3 separate regions of the Homo sapiens genome follow, and regions 1 and 2 are each linked to region 3. The links are contacts of gene promoters, found by promoter capture Hi-C in blood cells and fetal thymus (Javierre and others, 2016). All regions are on one chromosome and are shown on one strand. The core of a region is centred on a gene start or on the middle of the fragment in contact, and the rest is flanking DNA. Distances in the headings are between cores, read along the strand shown. Region 1 holds the start of FAM241A (family with sequence similarity 241 member A). Region 2 holds the start of AP1AR (adaptor related protein complex 1 associated regulatory protein). Region 3 holds the start of PAPSS1 (3'-phosphoadenosine 5'-phosphosulfate synthase 1).

What was found. Contacts are between HindIII fragments. The CHiCAGO score rates a contact against its expected background, and 5 or more counts as called.
Region 1: the fragment with the promoter of FAM241A here is called in contact with the fragment with the promoter of PAPSS1 in region 3 in 5 of 17 cell types (naive CD8 T cells, non-activated CD4 T cells, activated CD4 T cells and 2 more); the score reaches 6.5 in naive CD8 T cells.
Region 2: a contact is called between the fragment with the promoter of AP1AR here and the fragment with the promoter of PAPSS1 in region 3, in 2 of 17 cell types (naive CD8 T cells and total CD8 T cells). The highest score is 7.0, in naive CD8 T cells.

What each region holds. Positions count from the first base shown.
Region 1 is chr4:112,143,625-112,147,180 of GRCh38, reverse strand. FAM241A (family with sequence similarity 241 member A) reads right to left here and starts at 1,727. Exons shown (of 2, transcript NM_152400.3): 1 at 1,448-1,727. The coding sequence starts at 1,600. RefSeq lists an enhancer at 817-956 and a silencer at 1,297-1,946. The HindIII fragment of the contact is 3,530 bases long and covers 868-3,556 here.
Region 2 is chr4:112,230,332-112,233,646 of GRCh38, reverse strand. It overlaps AP1AR (adaptor related protein complex 1 associated regulatory protein), which reads right to left and starts at 1,860. Exons shown (of 10, transcript NM_018569.6): 1 at 1,473-1,860. The coding sequence starts at 1,555. It overlaps AP1AR-DT (AP1AR divergent transcript), which reads left to right and starts at 1,497. Exons shown (of 1, transcript NR_186684.1): 1 at 1,497-3,315. RefSeq lists enhancers at 1,066-1,115, 1,140-2,087 and silencers at 1,326-1,595, 1,756-2,035. The HindIII fragment of the contact is 11,290 bases long and covers 1-3,315 here.
Region 3 is chr4:107,718,044-107,721,534 of GRCh38, reverse strand. PAPSS1 (3'-phosphoadenosine 5'-phosphosulfate synthase 1) reads left to right here and starts at 1,301. Exons shown (of 12, transcript NM_005443.5): 1 at 1,301-1,415. The coding sequence starts at 1,356. RefSeq lists a silencer at 1,109-1,358 and an enhancer at 1,989-2,048. The HindIII fragment of the contact is 5,198 bases long and covers 1-3,491 here.

The DNA of each region.
Region 1 (3,556 bases), core at 478-2,977, 4.4 Mb before region 3:
ATAAGCAATTTTGGAAAGACCACAACTATTAGTGATGTCTACATAATCATACTAATGAAGTACACAGAAGCTTAAATGAAGTATTTTTATATGCTCCCTTACAACTATTTGAAAATTTACTTTGGAAACCCCTGCTCAAATGCAACCCCTCCCCACCCCCAAAGGAATTCTTGTGCTGTCTTCTTCACTTTTCCAGTTAAGCAATTTAAGTTAGAGGAAATCAAGCCCTTGAGCAAATGAATAGTTAACGGGAAAAACCACTAGGAAGGGAATCCGAAGAACAAGCTACCAAATTATTTGCTTGAGTCACTTTCTCTTATATTGTCACAGATGAAAAATTACACTCCACGTGGTGATCAAACCTAACGCTAAGGCATATTTTGTGTGCCACACAGTATTACTCTGTTTCCTAAGTAACCTATTGAAACAATGTAAGGTATACATCTATTAATGCATTTAGTGATGATACTGGAATTTGTGAAACGTGACAGAAAGGACAGATGAAGAAAGATGAGGAGAGACAGGTATTAATTGTCCTAACAGTACAGGCTGTAATAAAGGCCAATAATCATTTGAATTCCTGCTCCTTAATGTGAGTCTAAAGAGCGGCTTACCTCAGGTATTTGGAAAGTCTAAATACTGTATTTGCTGTAGAAAATTCATCCAACATACAATTCAATTTTTAAAATTAAACCTTTTGCCTAATCTTTAAGATATTTGATGTTATAATGCCCATTATCACACTTTATTTAAATGAGATAAACTCAGAGAGTTTAAAAAATTACGCAACTTCTCTTTTCCCTTACTATGGCTGGCCTCTTATAACCGAAAGCAATATTCTTGCCTCTCCACTTTTTAACTGAAGCTTTGATCTCATCTGTATTTATGAAGAACGTGCTCTGGGAGAGTCCCTGTCAAGACATTCATTGTAACACCCGCTCCTACTCATGCTTTCAGCGCTGCCCGTGGACGGAATCCACCCACACCTTCCAGACACGCTAGGTGTGGGCTCGGAAACGCAAGATGGAGGGCGGGAGGGGAGCCGGCGTCTCCTAAACCTGGCGCAGGGCACGGACTCGAAGTTGAAAAAGAAGTGTTTACAAGTGAGGCTTTTAAATAAATCACCGCTATGGAGGGCATTTCCTCCGAGCCCTGGGCGCCAGCCTGAGAATCCTCTGCCGGACGCCAGGGGACGAACCACGCTGACCCCGCCAGACACGCGACCCCGGGGCCGGCGCTGGCGTCTGCACTCGCGCGACCCCGCCGCTCCTCCTGGGAGCGCCGTCTAACCGCTCCCGGCGACGACTTCCCAGAGCGCCGGGGAGCCAGTGCCCACGCGGGGCAGAGCTGCGGCGCGGCCCGCGGGCCGGGCCCCTTCCCTCCAACGCCGGGCGGGGCTCGCGGCCCCCGACCCGGCCGCTTCGCCGCCGCCCCTCCCCGCGCTCACCTGCTCGCTCTCCTTCGGCCGCTGTCCGCGCCGCCGCGGGCTCGCCCCGGGATCCCACCCGGTCCCTGCCGCCTCCCGCTCCGCCAGCGCGTCCCCGTCCTCGTCGCGTTCCCCGCCGTCGCCGCCCCGCAGCAGCTCCCCGGCTGAGCACATCCCGCAGCCAACTCCTACCGCCCCGGACAGCCGCCGGAGGACCACGCCGCGACGCACCAGGCAGCGCCGCCGCCCGAAGGCTGCCCTGGGATCCGCCGCACCCGCCGCTGACAGGAGCCGCCGGAGCGCGCCCCGCCGGCCTGGGCGCCTGAAGTACCAGCCCGGCCCCTCCTGTCACTGGCTCGCCCAACCCCCGGCCGTCGGGGCGGAGCCGTACAGGGGAGGGGCCAAGACAGGGGGCGGGGCCAACGGTGTGTTGGGGGGCGGGGGTGTGTGTGTGAGATTGAGAGAGAGGCCGACAGACTGAGAGAAGAAGGGTGTTGTGTGAAAAACTATGGACATACACTGCATGAGGGAGATTGTACATGAGAGAGGCTGTGTGTATGTATGAGGGATATTGTGTGTGCGTAAGAGACCGTTAGAGAGTGTGAGAGAGACGCTGAGCGTGATTTGTGTGTGTGTGTGAGAGAGATTCTATATAAAAGAAACTGCGTATAAGAGATTGTATGCACTTTGGGAGGCCGAGGCGGGCAGATAGCTTGAGCCCAGGAGTTGGAGACCAGCCTGGGCAACCCCATCTCTACTAAAAATAGAATTAGGCGGGCGTGGTGGCGGCAGTGTGGTCCCAGCTACTCAGGAGGCTGAGGTGGGAGGATCGTCTCAGCGCGGGAAGTCGAGGCTGCAGTGAGCAGAGATCACACCACTGCACTCCAGCGTGGGCGACAGAACCAGACCCCGTTTCAGAGAGAGAGAGAGAGAGAGAGAGGAGGGGGGGGGGAAAGAGAGAGAGAGAGAGAGAGAGAGAGAGATTGAGATTGTATGTGTATGCAAGAGACTGTGAGAGAGAGATTGTATGAGGGAACAACAGAAACTGAGAGAGATCAAGTGTGAAAGAGAAATTACTTGTGTGAGAGAGCCAGTGCATATATTTAAGAGAGAGCGCATTTGTATAAGAGATTAGTGTGTGTGGGTTTGTATGTGAGAGAGAAACACACACATGCACCCAGTTACACTCTCCAGCAGAGTACCCCTGTTCTTGCCTGAGTATCTGCCCGTCCTTTTCAAGGAAGACACATTTCACTGTCCCTCTTGTTCCTTTAGCCTCCTTTCCTAGTGTCTCACTGAAGGTCTGTGTATTTGTCCCTTTCTGTTGAGTGCTTCCTAGTGTGTGTTGTTTGTTGGAGCCTTGGGTCGTTTGATGGTGTATCAAATGATGTATCTTTCTGTAACTGGGTAAGAATATGTCTTTCTCAGTGGGTGGTGAGGGGAATATATCCAATTGATAATTATTTTTTGTACTACTCCATCCATTTTATTCAAGGAAAATGGAAGGGTGTTTAAATAAAATATCACTTTTTTTTCTGTGTATGCCTTATCTGTACATTGGGAAAACGATGGGTTATTGTACAGGTAAAATACAGAAAAGTAAATATGGAAAGTAAACATGTGTACACATGGAGAAGAGTAAGAGTTATTTGGGATCTTCTATTAAAATGTTTTCAGGCCCAGAGAAGGAATTAAAATAGGCAGAATCTCATAGGCTTATTTTAAAGAAGTTTCCTGTTTTTTGTAGTCAGGAGATTCTCAGTCTTTCTCACACACCCACAATCTCTCATACACACAATCTCTCTCATACACACATGATTTCACATACATACAGTCTCTCTCACACATATACAACCTCGCGCACACACCATCTCTCACACATGGTTTCTCACACATGCCCTCTCTGATTGTCTCTCCTCCACAAACAATCTCTCTAGGGGCCAGAAAATATGCCGTTGGATATCAAAAATTAGAAAGAAAATGAATCTGGTTCATTCCCTTTCTTAAAAGTCTTTAAAACTCCAGAAAAGAGTATTTAATATTATATACATACAATCAGAAACAAATATCACCATGGGAACCCAGTAGCCTTTCTGATGGGCCTCATTTTTTTTCCCCTGAAGGCAACAT
Region 2 (3,315 bases), core at 611-3,110, 4.5 Mb before region 3:
AGTTTTTTGCTTATCCATTTAGAATGTAAGTACTGCTCCCTCACCAACCAACTTTCTTGGAGTTAGAATTTAACGCCCTGTAACACAACTACAAATAATAGTAAAAGCCAAAGATTGTGTGGCATCTAGTTATTGGGCAAGCCTACTTAAGCAGCTTGACCTTGTAAGTTTCATTCACACACAAAAATTATAAATACTTAAACCAGATGATCCTGGATGACAAGATAAAACAACTGTCATGTCCCACTCAAGAGTAATAACTCATAAATTAGGGAAATCGAAATATTACACTAGGCACAAACTGCAAATCCTTGCCCTTCCATTCTAGGGATACTTAGTGTAAAACCTTAGCTATTTTGTATCAGAGAGGTGACACAATGCCTAATTAATGAATGAGAATCCTATATTTTATAAGATCTCCATTACCAAAGATTCAAATTATGATCATTTACTGCAATTTATTTATGTTGAACATCTTATTACCCAATAATGTTAGTTAAATGGAACAGATTATGAAAAATTAGCAATCTGTTTCAGAAAGTGCAAAACAGTCTTAGTCCTTACACAAACTGGCTTGGTTCAGATTTTCAATTCTAGGTTTGAATTCCGGAGGGACATTTAATAACAACAAAGCCAACCCCAAAGGAATTTGCTCTAATTTTTTCAATATATATGAAATAAAAAAACACAAAAACGGAATTATGAAATTACTATTCTGTGGATGGTGCATATACAAAACCTAAGCAATATCCCAGGTTTACTCAAGAGAAGTGAAGTTCAGAAGGACTGCAATTTACCTAATGTTACAGGACGTTTGAGTAGCAATCAGGGCAAGGAATTCCTCTCGAAATTTCAAAAACTTAATACGAAAAAATTACACATTGTCCCTGTAGTTATGAGCACCAAGAATCTGAATGCCCATTGGGAACTCTGCAATTCAGCAAGTCTTTGTAGCTACCAGAGTTCATCAGTATCTGGAACCTTATTTTACTCCAGCATCCAAATGACTTCTACTTAAAATCAATCTGAGGCATTAACTCCGGAGCCAGATCCCACCTGCTCTGCCAGGGCTAAAGAGAGGGTCAGATACAGGGATACTAGCTTTGGCGTTAAACCTAAGCTCAGCGCAGGGTGTGTCCAGGTTGCCGTGGAGCCGGTCCTACAGCCCATTAGCGCGAAGCTACCCCTTGTTTCCTGGAGATGATGTCTCCCGTGACTCCTTCCCCGCGTGACAGGGCGCCCTGGCAGGAGGGACACCCCGCCCCCTCTTCTACCTCTTTCCGAGGAGGCCCCAAGACCGGACCCCAGACTGGGCCTCCAAGACGACCACCAGTCTGACGTCTGCTAAGCAGTGAGTGTAGCAGGGCTCTCGACCGCCACCTCCAGCCGCCGGGGGACGGTGAAAGGGATTCCCCGCCGGGGGCCGAAGAGGAGGAGCCACGGGGGCCGGGCCCCTCCCCCAGCGGGCTTACCCTCCGCCGCCGCCTACTCGCTGCAGCCGCCCCGCTTCCTTGCGAAGCAGTCCGAAGCACTGCGTCCAGCAGCAGTTCCCCATCGCATGCCGCCCAGGCGCCGCCGCTCCTCCTCCTCCTCCCGCTCAATGCCCAAACCCAGGCCCGGCAGCTGCATCCGCACGGCACGAGCCGAAATGGGGTTCAAGGACCGAGGGCGGGCCGGCCAGAGCCCGGCGGCGTGAGGGCACGGGGCGACGAAAGACGAGGCGCTAGGGAACAAAGGCAGTGTTTACTCCAGCGGCCGCAGAGCCACCGCTGCGCGAGGGAGGAGCACCGGGCTCAAGGCTCTGGACTCCCTCGCCGTCCGCATGGCCCTTCTCGCCTCAGCTCCTAGCCCAGCGTGAGTGACCGCCTCCAGCTGCCGAAGGAGGCCAGTCCCCGCGAGCCGAGCACCCTGGCCCCGCCCCCAGCGCGCCCAGGCCCCTGCTCGCCGCCAACGCTGCCACACCCCCGGCCTCTCCCGCGCCCCAATTGGGCGCGCTACCTCGGTGCCCCGCCTTCTCTGGCGACCGGCCTGTGCGTCACTTCCGCTCGCTCCTGGTTCAGCCGCCTCTGCCTGCGAGACGGTTCAATTCCTGCGTGCGGACGTTTGTTTTGTTGGACCTTGACCTGACTAGGAAATTTCCCTCTCTCATTGCAGTTTCGGGCATCCTCGTCCGGAGCACGCTGGGCGTGGCATGGCTAAGGCTCAGCCTTCGAACTTTGTATCAAAGGCGTGTGAGGAGCCAGAGTCCCAGGCCGGAAGTCATAAGTGCGAAGGGGCGTTTCTCTGCACGGTGTGCTTAGTTTTTGTTAATACTGCACCATAAGCGGAAAATAGACTCGGGAACTGATTGAGGTTACTTTGAACGCACCAAGATTTTTTTCCGGTCTCTGGTTTGTGTCTTAATTTCCATACTGTTAATGTTTTAGGGAAACGTAATAATGGTGCATTATTGTCCTCGTTTTGTTTGAAAATCAGATCTTCACATAATTTTGGGTTGGGTAGTTGGGGTTCAGAGGAAATTGGCAAGAGGGCTGGGGTTTTTCGGGGACGTCAGCGTTGCCATTCCAAGCATGCTGCCCAGAACTGCTGTAGATGGGAAGAGAAAGCTGCTCTAATGTGTCCGCAGCCCTCTCAAGTGCTACCATATAATTCGCGTCTTGTTTGGCCTCAAGACAGTTGGCCTCACAATAGATATAAGATGTGGTTTAGTAGACACCTCGTCCAGTGGATAGGAGGATGCTCTCATGGACTGGACACATCAAGTTTTTAGCCTGTTTAATTAAACCTAGAAAAATTGTTACATTTTAGAAAGTTTTTATTGATGATAAAATGTTCTCTGAACTCATTTTCTTGCTTCTTTAAATACGTATCTGGTTTCAATCTTAGCACTGCTACTTACTAATGTTTATTTTATTTGGGTTTTAGTTGTTTTGTAATCAGAAGCATAGGATAACATTTGTCCCAATGGTTTGCTTTCAGTGAATGTTGGGATGACCGAATGACTTCCTAGTGAAAGCATTTTCTTTTCTCCTTCCAACCCCTGAAATTAGACAAATGTATTAATGAAATAATCATTAAAATTCAACTATAAATGTTTACAGAAACTGGTACATCTATCCTATGGAATATTTAGTAACAAATAGGAACACAGTATTGATGAACACACCCTGAAATGAATCTGTAGGAAATTATGGTTAAAGAAAAAGCCAATCTCAAATGCTTATATACTGTGTAATTCCATTATGTAACATCTCAGAATTGATAAATTTATGTAAGTGGACAACAGAATAATTGATTGCCATGGGTCAGGGAATG
Region 3 (3,491 bases), core at 52-2,551:
TCAGAGTTATGGGGGGTGTGGGGAAGATAACTCCTGGAGGAAACTCTGTCATGCCCCCAGCCCATCCTCCTACGAACTAGCCCTGGAATAATTAGGTGAATTTGAAAATGTCCTCCGTAGGCGGGAGTTCTATTCGGGGTTACCTGCGGCCTCCCCGGTCCTGGATTTCAGTCCTCTAGGTATTTCCTGAGTAGCTCTTAATAATACAGAAGCCCCTTTCCGGTGTAGGTCGGTAAGAAGCACTGCACAGAAATCTGATGCGAAGTGGGGTCTCCTAGCGGAGAGGGAGGCACCTTATAAGTAATCACTAATCCAGGTTGAGATATTAATTATTGATGTCAAGAAATCGGGCTTTTATTATATCTTTTTAAAAACTGTGTCTTGAGGCCAGGCGCTGTCGCTCACGCCTGGAATCCCAGCACTTTGGGAAGCTGAGGCGGGCGGATCATGAGGTCAGGAATTCGAGACCAGCCTGGCCAACATAGTGAAACCCCGTCTCTACTAAAAATACAAAAATTAGCCGGGCGTGGTGGCACACGCCTGTAGTCCCAGCTACTCGGGAGGCTGAGGCAGGAGAATCGCTTGAACCCGGGAGGCAGAGGTTGCGGTGAGCCGAGATCCTACTACTGCACTCCAGCCTGGGCGACAGAGCAAGACTCCGTCTCAAAAAAAGAAAAAAAATTGTGTCTTGAGTAGAATTTTAATGTGGAGAATGAGCTGTTCGGTAAATCAATTCTTCCCTTTGCAAAGCTGTAAAACATTTAAAACATTTGGCCAGGGTGACATGGGCACAGAAGGGGCAGACAGGAGGTCGGCAGCCAGGTCTGTGGAGGAGTAGCCACAGGTGCAAGAGGCCGCGTCAGCGTCCTCCCAATCAGCCTCTGCTGAGGGAGTGCCGCGCGCGGCGAGCCGCGCACTCCCCTTGCCTTTCTCCCGGCGGCTGGTACTCGCTCTTAGAGATCTGCGTTAGCTCAGAGCTAGGCTCGGTGCCGCAGAGGCACCTGAGGTTCCACGACTGCATTCCAGGCCCCGCCCCTTCATCGGGATCTGGAAGGAGGAGCGCCGTGCGCGCCCGCGCCGGCGCGAGCGCTGAAGCTCCGCCCCCAGCTTCTACCTCCGGTTCTATCCCGGCGTTTCGCCCTTCCCCACAGACCTCTGCCCCGGACCCATTTCCGAGGCGCGCCGCATGCGCCGCGCAACCCAGGCCACGAGCACGGGCGCGTGCTTAAGTCAGCGCGCGCCCGCTCCGACGCGAGGAGGCCCCGCCCTCCAGCCCCGCCCCGCTCGCTGGCCTGCCCTCCTCTTGCTACCCTCCCGGCGCAGAGAACCCCGGCTGCTCAGCGCGCTCCGCGGTCATGGAGATCCCCGGGAGCCTGTGCAAGAAAGTCAAACTGAGCAATAACGCGCAGAACTGGGTAAGCTGGGGACGAAGGCGAGACGGCGAGGAGCGGAGGGGCTGTGGGAGCAGCTCGTTCCGGAGCCGCCGCCTCTCTCCCGCCTCCTCCGCATCCATCCTTCCAGGAGCGCGGAGGTGGGTTCCGGGGCTGCGGCGCCTCCCGGCTGGGGCCGTGGGTGGTTGCGAGGCAGAGGGGCGCGGCGCAGGGTGGGGATCTCGCCCTAGCTTGGCGCAGCGTGCGGTCCGAGCCACCGTTCGTGGGAAGAACGCCCCCCCTCCCCAGCGCCTCCGCTCAGGTAAGACCCCCAGGAAAATCCTTCACCCGTGAACTGGCGCTTGCTGAAACCTCCGGGTGCTGAAACCTGCGGCTGCAGAAACAGGAGCTTCCTGCATACCTTGGAGTGGCCTGAAGATGTGCAGAGAAGGCGGAGGCGGGCGCCTTCGACGCGTTCTTGGTTTTTCTTGGCTCTGCCAGTGCGGTTGGCCCAGGTTTGGGTCCATCTCCGTGTCTTTCCATTTCTGAGTTTCAGTGTGAAAGGAGAGTACCCAACAATGTGGTCATTCATGAGTTGAGACTGCCCTGAACTGAGGTTCTTTGTGTCTCTGTGTTAAATCGGAATGTTTAACAAGTAGGAGTTTGGAAGACTCCATTCCTGGTGACAGTCAGGTATGGGACCAGTCCTTTATAACGTTTAGTAATGACTGCCAGTTGACTTTGTAAAGTGCTGTGTCCTCATAACGTTGCTTACTTCCTTAATTTCTCTGTGATGAGAAAGAGCCTTATCTTCCTTTGTAAGTGTGCAGCAGGGAAGGGCCCATCTTTGGAGTCTGGAAAGGCACTGGTTTAAGTTTAGACGGAAACGTTATTTCACAGTCCAATGGAATAATAAGGTTTAAATGCAATGTCTCCCAAAACGTTACTTGCCCTAGATGAATCAAAGAAAAAAAAAACAAGCAATTTCAGGCAAATGTTCTTTGGAAGTCATTAATTTACCACATCTGTTGTTATTGTTATCATGAGTTGTTTACTGATTCCTCTCTCCTTTTATTTAACTCTATAGATGGTAAGGAGGGGAAGGAGATTTAAAAGATGAATTAGAACAGTGGAAAGAGCGCTGGACTCCTGGCCTGGTCTCTCATCCCAGCTTTGCCATTTACTAGCTGTGTGATCTTGAGGAGAGTCACTTTACTTTTTCGAACCTCAGTTGACTTAAGGGTATAATAGTATGTACTTCACGGGATTGTTTTGATGAACAAAGAAGACAGATCATGAATTTGAATGTGCGGTGAAACCACTGCCTTGAAACTCAGACTCAGTTTCGCTTCTCTTACCTTAAGGTGTTTCACGGTTAGGGAAATAAGGTTGGCTTACTTGGGGTATTTACAGATGATTTCTGTTACATTGTCCATTTATGTACTCATTTATTTATTAACATTTGCCACATGGTGCGTATTCTATGTAGAGACTTGTGCTAGACATGGTGGTGAAAAATGTGGGACTTACTGCTTGCCTTCTGGTAGTTCATGGTTTGTGTTGGGGTTGTGACATTTGCCAAGTGGTGAATATGTCTTTGTGGTCCAGAGTGAGTGGCGTAAGACAGAAGTTTTATTGCAATTTAGAGGAGAGATTAGTTTCGCCTGGGCGTTTTGGGAGGGTTTATGGAGGATTTCAGATTTCTGAGTCAGAGGGGAACTGCATGGATAAGTGTTGGGAATAAAAATTACTATTTTTTTTACTCCAGAAACATTGACGAAACTTGTTTGACTGCCCTGGAGAGTTTTTGTTGGGAAGTGGAGGTAAGGTTCAATAGGGAGGCTGGGGCTCCGTGATGCTCTTGTGTTTGGCTGCAGAGAAGACTTGATTCTATGGGGGATTTTTGATGGGGCTAGAATTTTAAATTTTCTGATCCTTGTAAATTTTTCTCTCCCTCATGGAACACCCGTCATCTCTTCCTCTCTCATATTTAAATCATCTTAATAGGCACAAGTGTGAAGAACCCATATACCTTTAAAATTCCTATCACAGGATAAAATTGGTAATCCAGGAAGAATGTTCCGCTGAAGAAATGTAGACCCTGGTAGGACCCAGATGGGG